Linked DNA regions of Homo sapiens: region 1 is linked to region 2. The links are contacts of gene promoters, found by promoter capture Hi-C in human tissues and cell types (Jung and others, 2019). All regions are on one chromosome and are shown on one strand. The core of a region is centred on a gene start or on the middle of the fragment in contact, and the rest is flanking DNA. Distances in the headings are between cores, read along the strand shown.

The links. Contacts are between HindIII fragments. The study calls those that stand out against the background at their distance.
Region 1: a fragment that was not itself captured here is called in contact with the fragment with the promoter of OR11H6 in region 2 in 4 of the 25 tissues and cell types used here (lymphoblastoid cells, mesendoderm cells, spleen and 1 more).

Annotation. Positions count from the first base shown.
Region 1 is chr14:20,132,733-20,139,735 of GRCh38, forward strand. OR4N5 (olfactory receptor family 4 subfamily N member 5) reads left to right here and starts at 6,088. Exons shown (of 3, transcript NM_001004724.2): 1 at 6,088-6,158. The HindIII fragment of the contact is 5,982 bases long and covers 1-5,164 here.
Region 2 is chr14:20,219,481-20,225,777 of GRCh38, forward strand. OR11H6 (olfactory receptor family 11 subfamily H member 6) reads left to right here and starts at 4,230. Exons shown (of 1, transcript NM_001004480.1): 1 at 4,230-5,222. The coding sequence starts at 4,230. The coding sequence ends at 5,222. RefSeq lists a silencer at 1,156-1,334. The HindIII fragment of the contact is 13,960 bases long and covers 1-5,382 here.

The DNA of each region.
Region 1 (7,003 bases), core at 924-3,423, 89 kb before region 2:
ATCAATGTCCAGAATAATATTTAATAGGTTTCCTTCTAGGATTGTAATAGTTTTAGGCCTTACATGTAAGTTTTTCCTTTATCTTGAGTTAATTTTTGTATATACTGAAAGGAAGGTGATGCGGTTTGACTGTGTCTCCACCCAAAACTCATCTTACGTTGTAGCTCCAATCAGAAATAGGAACGCTTTTACGCTGTTGGTGGGAGTGTAAATTAGTTCAACCATTGTGGAAGACAGTGTGATGATTCCTCAGGGATCTAGAACCAGAAATACTATTTGACCCAGCAATCCCATTACTGGGTATATACCCAAAGGATTACAAATCATTCTACTATAAAGACACATGTCCATGTATGTTTACTGCAGCACTATTTACAGTAACAAAGACTTGGAACCAACCCAAATGCCCATCAATGATAGACTGAAAGAAAATGTGGCACATATACACCATGGAATACCATGCAGCCATAAAAAGAATGAGTTCATGTCCTTTGCAGGGACATGGATGAAGCTGGAAACCATCATTCTCAGCAAACTAACACAAGAACAGAAAACCAAACACTGTATATTCTCACTCATAAGTGGGAGTTGAACAATGAGAATACATGGACACAGGGAGGGGAACATCACACACTGGGGCCTGTTGGGGGTTGGCAGGGAAGGGGAGAGAGAGCATTAGGACAAATGCCTAATTCATGCAGGGCTTAAAACATAGATGATGGGTTGATGAGTGCAGCAAACCACCGTGGCACTTGTATACCTGTGTAACAAACCTGCACATTCTGCACATGTATCCCAGAACTTAAAGTATAATAAATTTTAAAAAAAAACCTATAGAAAGCTTTTTTATGGGCCAGGCCTGGGAGCCTGGCCTGACTTCCCAGGCTCAGGTGATCCTCCTACCTCAGCCTACAAAGTAGCTGCACCACGGTGCCTGGTTAACTTTTTGTATTTTTAGTAGATATGAGGTTTAACCATGTTGCCCAGGCTAGACTCAAACTCCTGGGCTCAAGACATCCACCCAGCTCAGCCTCCCAAAGTGCTGGGATTACAAACATGAGGCACCGTGCCCGGCCCATAATAAATAAATAAATACATAAATACATAAATAAATAAATTGTAGCTCCCATCATTCCCATGTGTTAGAGGAGGGACTGGTGGAAGATAATTGAATCTTGGGGGTCGGTCTTTCCCATGCTTTTCTCATGATAGTGAATAAATCTCATGAGATCTGATGGTTTTATAAAGGAGAGTTCTCTTGTATACACTCTCTTGCCTGCTGCCATGTAAGACATGACTTTGCTCCTCTTTTGCCTTCTGCCATGATTGTGAAGCCTCGCAAGCCATGTGGAACTGAGTCAATTAAACCTCTTTTATTCATAAATTACCCAGCTTCAGGTATGTCTTTATTAGTAGAGTGAGAACAGACTAATACAGAAGGGGTCCAGTTTCAGTCTTCTGCAGATGGCTAGCCAGTTATCTCAGTACTGTTTGTTGAATAGGGAGTCCTCTTCCCACTGCTTGCTTTTGTCAACTTTGTCAAAAATCAGATGGTTGTATGTGTGAGGCTTTACTTCTGAGTTCTCTATCCTATTTCATTGGTCTATGTGTCTGTTTTTGCATAGTATCATGCCTTTTGGCTACTTTAGCCTTGTAGTATAGTAGTCAGGTAATGTGATGCCTCCAGCTTTGTTCTTTTTGCTTAGAATTGCTTTAGCTATTCAGGATCTTTTTTGTTCCATATCAATTTTAGGATTTTTTTCTAATTTTGTGTAGAATGGCATTGGTAATTTGATAGTAACAGCATTGAATCTGTACATTACTTTGAGCAGTATGACCATTTTAACAATATTGATTCTTCCAAACAATGAGCATGGAATGTTTTCCCAGTTGTTTCTGTAGGCTATGATTTCTTTCAATAGTGTTTTGTAGTTCCTTGTAGGGATATTTCACCTCCTTGGTTAGATATGCTTTTACATGTTGTTGGGTTGTGTGTGTGTGTGTGTGTGTGTGTGTGTGTGTGTGTGTGCAGAGCTATTGTAAATGAGATTGCATTCTTGATTTGTCTCTCAACCTGAATGTTAGTGCTGTATAGAAATGCTGCTGATTCTGGTATATTTATCATTTATCAGTCCTTGGAGCCTTTTAGTGGAGTTAGAGTTTTCTATGTTTAGTGTTATATAATCACCAAACAAAGGTAATTTGATATTTTATTTTTTTATTTGGATGTAATTTATTTCTTTCTCTTGCCTGATGGCTCTGGCTCAGTTTCCCAGCACTATGTTGAATAGGAATGATGAGAATAGACATCCTTGTCTTGTTCCATTTCTCAAGGGGAATGCTTCCAGCTTTTTCCCATTCAGTAAGATGTTGGCAGTGGGTATGACATAAATGGATCTTATTATTTTGAGGTATGTTCCTTCTATAAATGCCTAGTTTCTTGAGTGTTTTTCTCATGAACCAATGATGAACTGTATCAAAAGCTTTTTCTGTGTCATTAAGATGATTATACCATTTTTGTTTTTAATTCTGTTTATATGGTGAATCACAGTTATTGATTTGCCTATGTTGAACCCACCCTGCATCCCAAGAATATGCAAATAAGTATAGATGTTAGAGAACAGCCCATAGCTAGTCCTTTAATTTGTATTGCTGCCTCCAAATTAGCCAGTCAACCTGCCTGTAAAACAAAGATTCCCCCAATTCTCTAAGTTTTATCAATGTGATTTTAAATTTGGGTGGGTTTCTCCTCTACTTTTTTTTAAATTACTGATTACCATCTGTGTTCAATATCAGTAATTTACCATTAAATAAAATAAAATTTTTAATCAAACATCATGTTACACTATCAAGAACTGACTTGTCTGAAACACTGGAATCTATTTGGCACCTATTTGTGCCTTGTTTGCTATCCTGAGCAAAATATGACTGTTTGCTATTAGGTTTTGTAAACATTGATACAATTTATTTTTCAAAATAAACTAGTGATACTATTTCTTAAAGTACAAACTAAAATCTCATTTTACTAAAATTAATAACATGAAACATACAAAGAAGAAAATGAAAACCATCCCAGAGAAAGAGGTTTTCATTACCAGGATTTAGAGAGGTATTACCTATAAGGTTCTCACTGAGTAGCAATCTAGTTGCTGGAATGTCAACTCCACTGGCATGTCAAATCCCTGAGACCAAGGACCTTTAATAATCAGTCCCTAATTGCTTACCTATGTAGTAAGCTTTCCAAATGAAAAACACCCAAAACTTTTTGTAAAGTAAGGAAATACATTTTCAATTTTGTAGATGACAAAACATCATAGGACTGTCACTCATACATTTCTCCAGAAAATAATTAACTAGCATTTTTAAAATGGAAGTGGCACTGGGTCAAAACCTACAAATTTTTCAGGCAAGAAAATATAACTCAGTGGCTTTATGTCTGAGAAAACTGCCACTCAAATTAAAGGATTATAAACAAATATTTTTAATAGAATAGCTCAGCATGTATTTTTTTTCTAAAGAATCTCTTTGAATAAATTGAGAATAAACTAATTGTGGTAGGTGCAAAAAAAGTGGCCTCATTTCTACTTTTTAAAAATGCTTAACCATGCAAATATATTTCCTATGTGAAAATTAAATGTACCTTTAAAAAAGCATAGTTTTTTTCCAATCACCACCTTATCTTGTTTGGGTCTTCATAATGTTAATAAATTACACTTCCATACATAGCTATTTCATCTAAAATCTTAGGAGTTTTTAAGACATCGTGTCTATCAGCAAGTCTAAATGTCTCCACCATCAAAATACATGTCAAGTTCTCTGAATTCTTCTTACTACGGTCTCCTCCTCCCACTCTCCACCAGGCAAAGTTACCAACATCATCTTTTGTACTTGGTACTGCAACATCTTCAAACTGTTCTCCTTGCTCCTATACTTGCCTCCCTCAAACCCATTCTCCACACAATAGCCAGAACGACCTGAAGATTACAATTGTTGACATTATAATTACACACTGAGAATAACCTCCAAATGCCATGAGCTGGATAACATCTGCCTACCTCTCTAATGTTGCCTTATACTTTTCCTTCTTATGCTCACCATTTCCTCATCATGATGGTCTCCTTTCTGTGCCTTACTGTACCAGCTCAATCCTCTTCCACAGTCTCCATTCTCGTTCTTCACATTGCCTGAAATGCCCTACCCTAGTCATTCAAACCTCAGCTTAACTTTCAGCTCCTCAGGGATAACTTTTCTAACTACTCAATCTAAAATAACAGCACCACCCCCCGCCCTCATTCACCCTCCAACACATCCCTCTGTTATATTCTTTCATTCTCCCACATTTTACTGTCTTTTTTGTTGTTGTTGTTGTTCTTTGTCTGGCTCCCTCCACTGGAATGTCAAATCCCTGAGACCGAGGACCTTGTATATAATAACCAGTGCCTAATCACTTACCTATGTAATAAGTTTTCCAAATGATAAACACCTAAAACCTTTTGTAAAGTAAGGAAATATATTTTCAGTTTTTTAGATGACAAAACATCGGAGGAAGTTTTTGACATTTTCTCAAAAAACAGAACCATCATGGTTGGAACCAGGACTGCAAACTTGTCTTTTGAGCTCCAGTCTTGTGCTAGTTTCACCACATTTGGATGCCTTGTTTAGAAAGCTAGTTCAGGCCACTCTGAGATACATCTTTTAAAACACACAGACATTCACACAAACATACATCTTTCTTTTTAATAGTATAAAATTGCCTAAGATGAAAAAGCATTCTCAGCAGAGGGGAAAGGTCTATTTTGCACTAGTTAATATCTCAGTTAAAATATCTTCTTCTAACTAATTCTAAAGCATTGTTGTCAATATTGAGAAGTGACATCCCTGGGAAGTCCCTTAATTGCATAAAACAAAACTAAAGTGAAAAATAAAAAACAAAAACAAAACAAAATAATTTGCATTCTCAGAAATATCTTTACCACTCTATCTTTCTCTCTCCATCCATTCCCTTCTCTTATCCTGTCTTTTTTTTTTTCTAAACCTGTGTTTACGGCTTTGTGGTACAAGCATCTCTGTGGGCATTGTTTCTCTTTCTATCCATCTTTTCTCCTATTTTTTTGTGTATGCTTTTTCTCTTTTTTGCCTCTGTTCTCTCTCTTGCAATTATCTTGTATTTCTAACTTTGTATCTTTCTGGGACTGTATTATACTGCTATGCTTTCACCCAAGGAAAATGGTATATGTTAGAAGTTGCAGCACTGATCATAATAGGAAAGAAACCTGCTAAAATGTTATCTACCTCTCTTCATCTCTGTCCACTTTTAAACATCTCTGACTGCATCTCTGGCTGAGCTGGGCATAAACATGAATGAAAGCATACTTGACTGTGTATTGAATTTGCTTTATTAAATTTAAGTTTGGTATTTTAATTTTAATGTGACTCTGAGGAATGGCATCTTTCTTTATAATGTGTTACAAAAAAAACTTACATTGATTTTTTTCTTGTATGATTAGATATTTTTATGTTATATTATTTCATTAAAAACCAGAAAGCTCATTATCCTATAGCAGGGCTTAGGAACCATATATTCAAAAAAACCAATAATACAATAGAGTATTTCTTCTTTTACTTGAGGGGCACTCCCCTGGAGGAACTGGTCTACAAGATGCATAAAGTTCTTTTTATTTAAAGACAAACTTTGAAATGATAATAATTTAGATATACTGAGTTAAATGAAGCATTATTAACATTGAATTAATCATTAATCATTTTGCCTAATAAGTGTATGGGACATTCCATTATCACTGCCACTGATAAAATACCAAATTCAAAACCCTAACATGATTCAATGGGGTATTCACTGGCATGTGTTTTGAATATTTAATCTTTAAAATGTTCTTGTCTCTTTCTTTGTCTAATTCTAATTGGCAGTCTAATAATTCCCATTGGTAGAACTCTGCAGAATTCAGGTAGCGGTAAAACCCCAAAGTACATTCTCTATTGCATTAATTGTATTACAAATGAATAGAGATTTCAGAATTTATAATATTCCAACATGAGAATATATATTTAAGCACAAATTCTGAAATAATTAGCTAATCTCCCTTTTATCAGACAGAAAAGAATAGCCACTTGTTTGAGAGTAGCATTTGGCTCCCGGCAAGGTAAAATTTTTTATCATTCTTTATATTTAAATTAAATAGAGAAAAAGAAAAAAAAAGAAAAATTATACTATTTGTCTTGGTTATCTGCTGCCTTGAAATTTATGAGAACAGAATTCTGCTGCAGAAACAGAGTAAGGGTGAGTTGTAAATTCAGGTGTTCAGCACTTTTCTCAAATATACCTGTTTCTCAAATAAACCTCCTATTATCTAATACTTAGTACTATTTTAAAGGTGCTAAAATTTTTAATTCTACTATTGTTTTAAAAATAAAAATACCAATTGATTATGAAGATTCACCACCTGGATTTCAATTTGTATATAATACAAATGACTGATTTCATCTTTATCCTAAACCAAAGGTAAAGGGAGGAAGAGTGAAGGAATCACAATCAGTCAAAAAGGGCAGGCTGAGTCTCAGAGACAAACTTCATTGACTTCACAAGTTTGGAAACCTCTGGTTCCACACTCAGTTACATGTGTTTCCCCATCTGCACATGGTCCTTACATCCAGCAATATAAGGCTCAGAGTTAGCAATCCTAAAACAAGAAAGACATGATTCTCAAACATGTCTGAATTAGATAAGAAAACCTTTACTGAGACCCTTCCTAGAACCTCCACAGTTTCTTACTCTGAAATCCACTTAGATTCAAGCTGTTATCATATCCCTTGGAATTAATCCCAGGGCAGTGACAAAAGATCTATTGACATGGTATCCATTTTTTGCTAGAACGTATTTATCACTGAATGCTTCCTCTCTTCATTTACACAGATGTGGATTAGCTCCTAACCACCTAATTTGATCATCATATTCCCTCTACCCTGTGAAGTAAAAACAGCGAATATA
Region 2 (6,297 bases), core at 2,980-5,479:
TCCTAAAGAATGCCCGGGTGATATATTCACATTAAGGGCTCACTCAGGTATCTCAGAGTTCCCACTATACAACTCAGTTAGGGAAAATAATGTTCAAAGTTCTTGCTTATTTGGGGGGACCATTAAATTCCCTTCAGTTAGAATGTACCGAGTCTTTTACCTCCTTGTTTGTAAATTAGTCACTGAAGTTTTTATTGACAGACTCTTCTTCAGCTGGAACAATTAAAGCAAGCTGTTATTTTTTTCAGAGTTGTTGGCAAGTGACAAATGGCAAGTGAAAACCTCTTGTGAAAGAAGTAGAACAGCAGACTCTCCTTTCCTTTGGATTCACCTACAGAGTAATTTTTAAAACATAAATACTTAAGAGAAGAGCCCCAGCACTTATAATTCTAAAAGTGCTCTTCCGTGGGCAAGTGTCTTAAATTCCCAGCAAGCGGATGGGGCTGGAGGAGGATGTAGCTCCCTTGTCGGTTCACATAGAATGTGTTGCCCAAGCGCTTTGTTCCTCCTCTTCTCTCCAATTGCCCATTTGTACTCTCACTTGAAGTGAATAGAAAGACAAAAGAGGTGAATTTAAACTTACTATTTGAGTTCCTAGTAAATGTACTTTGGTGATGGAGGCAATAGAAATGAATGCAGTGAGGTTTTTTTAATTATCTGTGAAGTTTAGTTATCCATCTTTCTCTGACCCTATATTCCATAGATAATTAAAATTTCACTGTGTTTGAAATAATGTCATCAAGGTCTTGAACATTACGAAGTCAAATAATGAGCAGGTGGGGACTGGGCACAGTGGCTCACACCTGAAATCTCAGCACTTTGGAAGGCCAAAGCAGGTGGATCACATGAGGTCAGGAGTTCAAGACCAGCCTCACCAACATGGCAAAACCCCGTCTCTACTAAAAATACAAAAATTAGCTGGGCGTGGTGGCAGGCGCCTGTAATCCCAGCTACTTGGGAGGCTGAGGCATGAGAATTGCTTGAACCCAGGAGGCAGAGGTTGCAGTGAGCTGAGATCATGCCACTGCACTCCAGCCTGGGGGATACAGTGAGACTCTGTCTCCAAAAAAAAAAAAATTAGCCGGGTGTGGTAGCCCAAGCCTGTAATGCCAGCTACTCAGGAGGCTGAGGCATGAGAATCCCTTGAACCCAGGAGGCGGAGGTTACAGTGATCACACAGTGCAGGGAGATCACGCCACTGCACTCCAGCCTGGACCACATAGCAAGACTCTGTCTCAAAAATAATTAATAATAATAAGCAGGAAGGAGTCAATTATGAGGTCCGGTTCCAGATCAATTATCATCAGTTGGAATTATATTTCTTTTCTCAGTACCAAAAATTTCCTGGCCTGTGAGTAGGATAAATTAATTCATGTCTCATTCTCTACCTACTGCCTTGAAAAGCCCAAAATATCTAATTATCTAATTTATGCCAAGCAAAATTTGTTATCATGTCCCCTGTACTACAAAGATTTATTCAAGTTATTTCTAACTGGAGTAAATATCTTTTTTCAGACCCACAGCATGCAGTTGGACGTGCTGCAAAAATACACAGCTCAAGGAACCCCCAGCCTATGCACATGACTGTGCAGATATAGGTTGTAATCTTGATAGTTTTTATAAAACCTGAGTTCCAAAAGGGGAGGAATTTTATTTTGTATATTCACCATTATAACCCCAGAACTCAACACACTGCTAGCAATATAATAAATGGTGAATAAACATGTGTTAAATTAAATTCTTGAATAAACAAATAAATACATGAAATGCTACGATTTAAATTTAACATCCAACCTTTTTTTATTTTTTATTTCTTTTGTTTTAGAAACTTTTTTTTTATACTTTTAAGTTTTAGGGTACATGTGCACAACATGCAGGTTTGTTACATATGTATACATGTGCCATGTTGGTGTGCTGCTCCCATTAACTCATCATTTAACATTAGGTATATCTCCTAATGCTATCCCTCCCCCCTCCCCCCACCCCACGACAGGTCCTGGTGTGTGATGTTCCCCTTCCTGTGTCCATGTGTTCTCATTGTTCAATTCCCACCTATGAGTGAGAACATGCAGTGTTTGGTTTTTTTCCTTGCCGTAGTTTGCTGAGAATGATGGTTTCCAGCTACATCCATGTCCCTACAAAGGACATGAACTCATCATTTTTTATGGCTGCATAGTACTCCATGGTGTATATGTGCCACATTTTCTTAATCCAGTCTATCATTGTTGGACATTTGGGTTGGTTCCAAGTCTTTGCTACTGTGAATAGTGCCGCAATAAACATACATGTGCATGTGTCTTTATAGCAGCATGATTTATAGTCCTTTGGGTATATACCCAGTAATGGGATGGCTGGGTCAAATGGTATTTCTAGTTCTAGATCCCTGAGGAATCGCCACACTGACTTCCACAAGGGTTGAACTAGTTTACAGTCCCACCAACAGTGTAAAAGTGTTCCTATTTCTCCACATCCTCTCCAGCACCTGTTGTTTCCTGACTTTTTAATGATCGCCATTCTAACTGCCAACCGTTTTTTTAAATTGCAAGCCCAGTAATTATATTTTCCAAGAATGACATAGCATGTAGTGTGGGAAATACAAGCAGTTATGGAGAGTATATTTGAGAGTAATTACAACTGTCCTAAAAATTCTGATGCATGTGATCATGATAATTATTATTCATTAAACTGAACTGCTTGGACAAAATTTACATTTTCCTAAAAATCATGTTTATTAGAGAAATTGTTGTATTATTCTTAAAATATTGTTAACATGAATATCCAAAGTTACCTCGGCAATAAAACATTTATGCTTTTGGGTTTGCTCCAGGTTTGATCAAGTACTGAAAGGCAGGCCTCTCGCTCTCTGTGGATCATATAAATGATGTAAAGATGGAATTTTGTGAGTATCTTAACAGTGACGCTAATAATACAATAAATTATCCTAATTTTAAAGTCATTATATTGCTAAATTTAAAATATTGATAGTGGCTTACCCAGCCAAATATTCTGAACTTTAACAAGGATATTTGAGGACACAGAAATAAGCCTGCTGGACCAATAGTTTCTAGAAAATTGTTAGCAAAATATCTAAGTTATTTATCTTGTCTCAACTCCTGATTTAGAAAATATCAGAAAGATCTTTCTGTTCTCTGCACATCCTGAGGTGACTCTTTTATTCATTATTTAATTTATGGAAAAGCAAGATAATGAAGGGACAAATTATAAAGTTTAGGACTTAATTTCTAGCAAAAATAAAGGCACATGGCTTTATTACTAGAGAAATTGATTTACCCAACAGCAAGCTCCCTCAAGAGCTAAGTCATGATGTAGAATAGTACAATTTGTTGGAGAAGGAGGCTGACAAGCAGGGAAAATGGTGGCCTGCCAAAGAAGTCATAGGTAAGGGACATAACAGCTGCCTTCAGTTATTTAAGACCTCACTACCACCATCATGGGAGAGGAATTAGACTTATTTTGTGTAGTTTCAACAAAGTCAAAGTTTACCTGCTGACTTGGGGAGTACCAAGATCAATGGGTAAAAGTAATAAAGGATACAAAGTTTGCTCACCATAAAGAAGGGCTTTGAGAGAACTAGAGCTCCTCACGAGAAAAAGGGGCTGGATTATTCAGCAAATCCAGATGCCACCAGGGAGAATGTGATCTGGGGGGAACTAGATTTGTAGCTTTCAGACCATTTTACAGATTCCTAAGGGTTCTGCAGCACCTCCCTGAGAGTAGCAAAAGGAAGGGAGCTGAAGACTCCCCAAAGTTTAATTCCTATCTGCTTTTTATTGGACTTCTACATATGAGGCTCTAAGAAGGCAATTTTAATATAGCAACTATTCTTGCTTCAGATTTATACTCAATTTTGCTTTAAAGTAAAAGAATATATCCAAAGTTTATATTTATATGTAGAGTATCTAAGGGGCAGTGATTTTACCATTAAAGATGAAACATTACTGAGACTCAGGGTTATAGAAAATTTGAAGTGAAACATGATTTGTTCCAAACCAATCTCCAAATAGGCCAGTGTATCTGGGCGTTACTGGCTTTGTACATATGTTTAAGTGAACCCTTCTAATCTCTTTGAACTTCAATTACCCTGTCTGTGAAAGAGAAGGGTAAAGAATACCTCCTCGCAGCTCAAAGAGTCATTAGGAAGACCAAATGAGATAATGTATGTAAAAATACTTAGTACATCATCCAGCATGAGTTAGCAAAATCTCCAAATGTTCTTTATTATTCATTCTTTGGTTACTTCTGTTTTTCTAACAGCTTTGGGACCCCAGAACAGAACAATGCATTTTGTGACTGAGTTTGTCCTCCTGGGTTTCCATGGTCAAAGGGAGATGCAGAGCTGCTTCTTCTCATTCATCCTGGTTCTCTATCTCCTGACACTGCTAGGGAATGGAGCTATTGTCTGTGCAGTGAAATTGGACAGGCGGCTCCACACACCCATGTACATCCTTCTGGGAAACTTTGCCTTTCTAGAGATCTGGTACATTTCCTCCACTGTCCCAAACATGCTAGTCAATATCCTCTCTGAGATTAAAACCATCTCCTTCTCTGGTTGCTTCCTGCAATTCTATTTCTTTTTTTCACTGGGTACAACAGAGTGTTTCTTTTTATCAGTTATGGCTTATGATCGGTACCTGGCCATCTGTCGTCCATTACACTACCCCTCCATCATGACTGGGAAGTTCTGTATAATTCTGGTCTGTGTATGCTGGGTAGGCGGATTTCTCTGCTATCCAGTCCCTATTGTTCTTATCTCCCAACTTCCCTTCTGTGGGCCCAACATCATTGACCACTTGGTGTGTGACCCAGGCCCATTGTTTGCACTGGCCTGCATCTCTGCTCCTTCCACTGAGCTTATCTGTTACACCTTCAACTCGATGATTATCTTTGGGCCCTTCCTCTCCATCTTGGGATCTTACACTCTGGTCATCAGAGCTGTGCTTTGTATTCCCTCTGGTGCTGGTCGAACTAAAGCTTTCTCCACATGTGGGTCCCACCTAATGGTGGTGTCTCTATTCTATGGAACCCTTATGGTGATGTATGTGAGCCCAACATCAGGGAACCCAGCAGGAATGCAGAAGATCATCACTCTGGTATACACAGCAATGACTCCATTCTTAAATCCCCTTATCTATAGTCTTCGAAACAAAGACATGAAAGATGCTCTAAAGAGAGTCCTGGGGTTAACAGTTAGCCAAAACTGAGATATCTTTGAAAAAGAAGCCAAATTGGCCACTTCTGACCTTAATTTTTTATAACTATAGAGAGTAGCTTCAGTAGTATGTTCTGGCTCACACTCAGGTAGACAGACTTATCTTTCACAGTTCCTTAGCAGTTAAATTCAGCTCATTAATGATAAATGCCAATGCTCAATAAAACATTTTAAACATATGTGGCCTCACTGAGTAGTTATGTGGTGGGTGGGTGTATATATACGTATATTATTTTTCTGTGATGTATCTTTGCTAGTTTTAATCTTAGCTGACAGAAGAAATCAATTGCATGTGTACTGAAACCTTTCAAAAGAGTGAGATCTGGCTGGGCACGGTGGCTCACGACTGTAATCCCAGCACTTTGGGAGGCCAAAGCGGGAGGATCACCTGAGATCAGGAATTCGAGACCAGCCTGGGCAATATGATGAAACCCTGTCTCTACTAAAAATACAAAAATTAGCTGGGCGTGATGGCACACACCTGTAATCCCAGCTACTCAGGAGGCTGAGGAATGAGAATTGCTTGAACCTGGGAGGCTAAGCTTGCAGTGAGCTGATATCACGCCACTGCCCCCTAGCCTGCATGATAGAGCAAGACTGCATCTTAAAAAAAAAAAAAAAAAAAAAAAAAAAAAAAGTGAGATATTTTCAATTCAGAAAATATACATATTTTTGTTTGTTTGTTTGTTTGTTTGTTTCTGAGACGAAGTTTCGCTCTTGTTGCCCAGGCTGGAGTGCAGTGGCACAGTCTTGGCTCACTGCAATCTCCGCCTCCCGGCTTCAAGTGATCCTCCTGCCTCAGCCTCCCAAGTAGCTGGGATTACAGGTGCCCACCGCCACACCTGGCTAATTGTATTTTTAGTAGAGATGGGGTCATTTTTGTATTTTTAGTAGAGATGGGGTTTCACCATGTTGGCCAAGCTGGTCTCGAACTCCTGACCTCAAGTGATCCACCCCCCTACCCTTGACCTCCTAAAGTGCTGGGATTACAGGCGTGAGCCACCACACCCGGCCAGAAAATAAATATTCTTAAAGAATATTTGTGTGTCAAGAGGCCACCAGAAAAA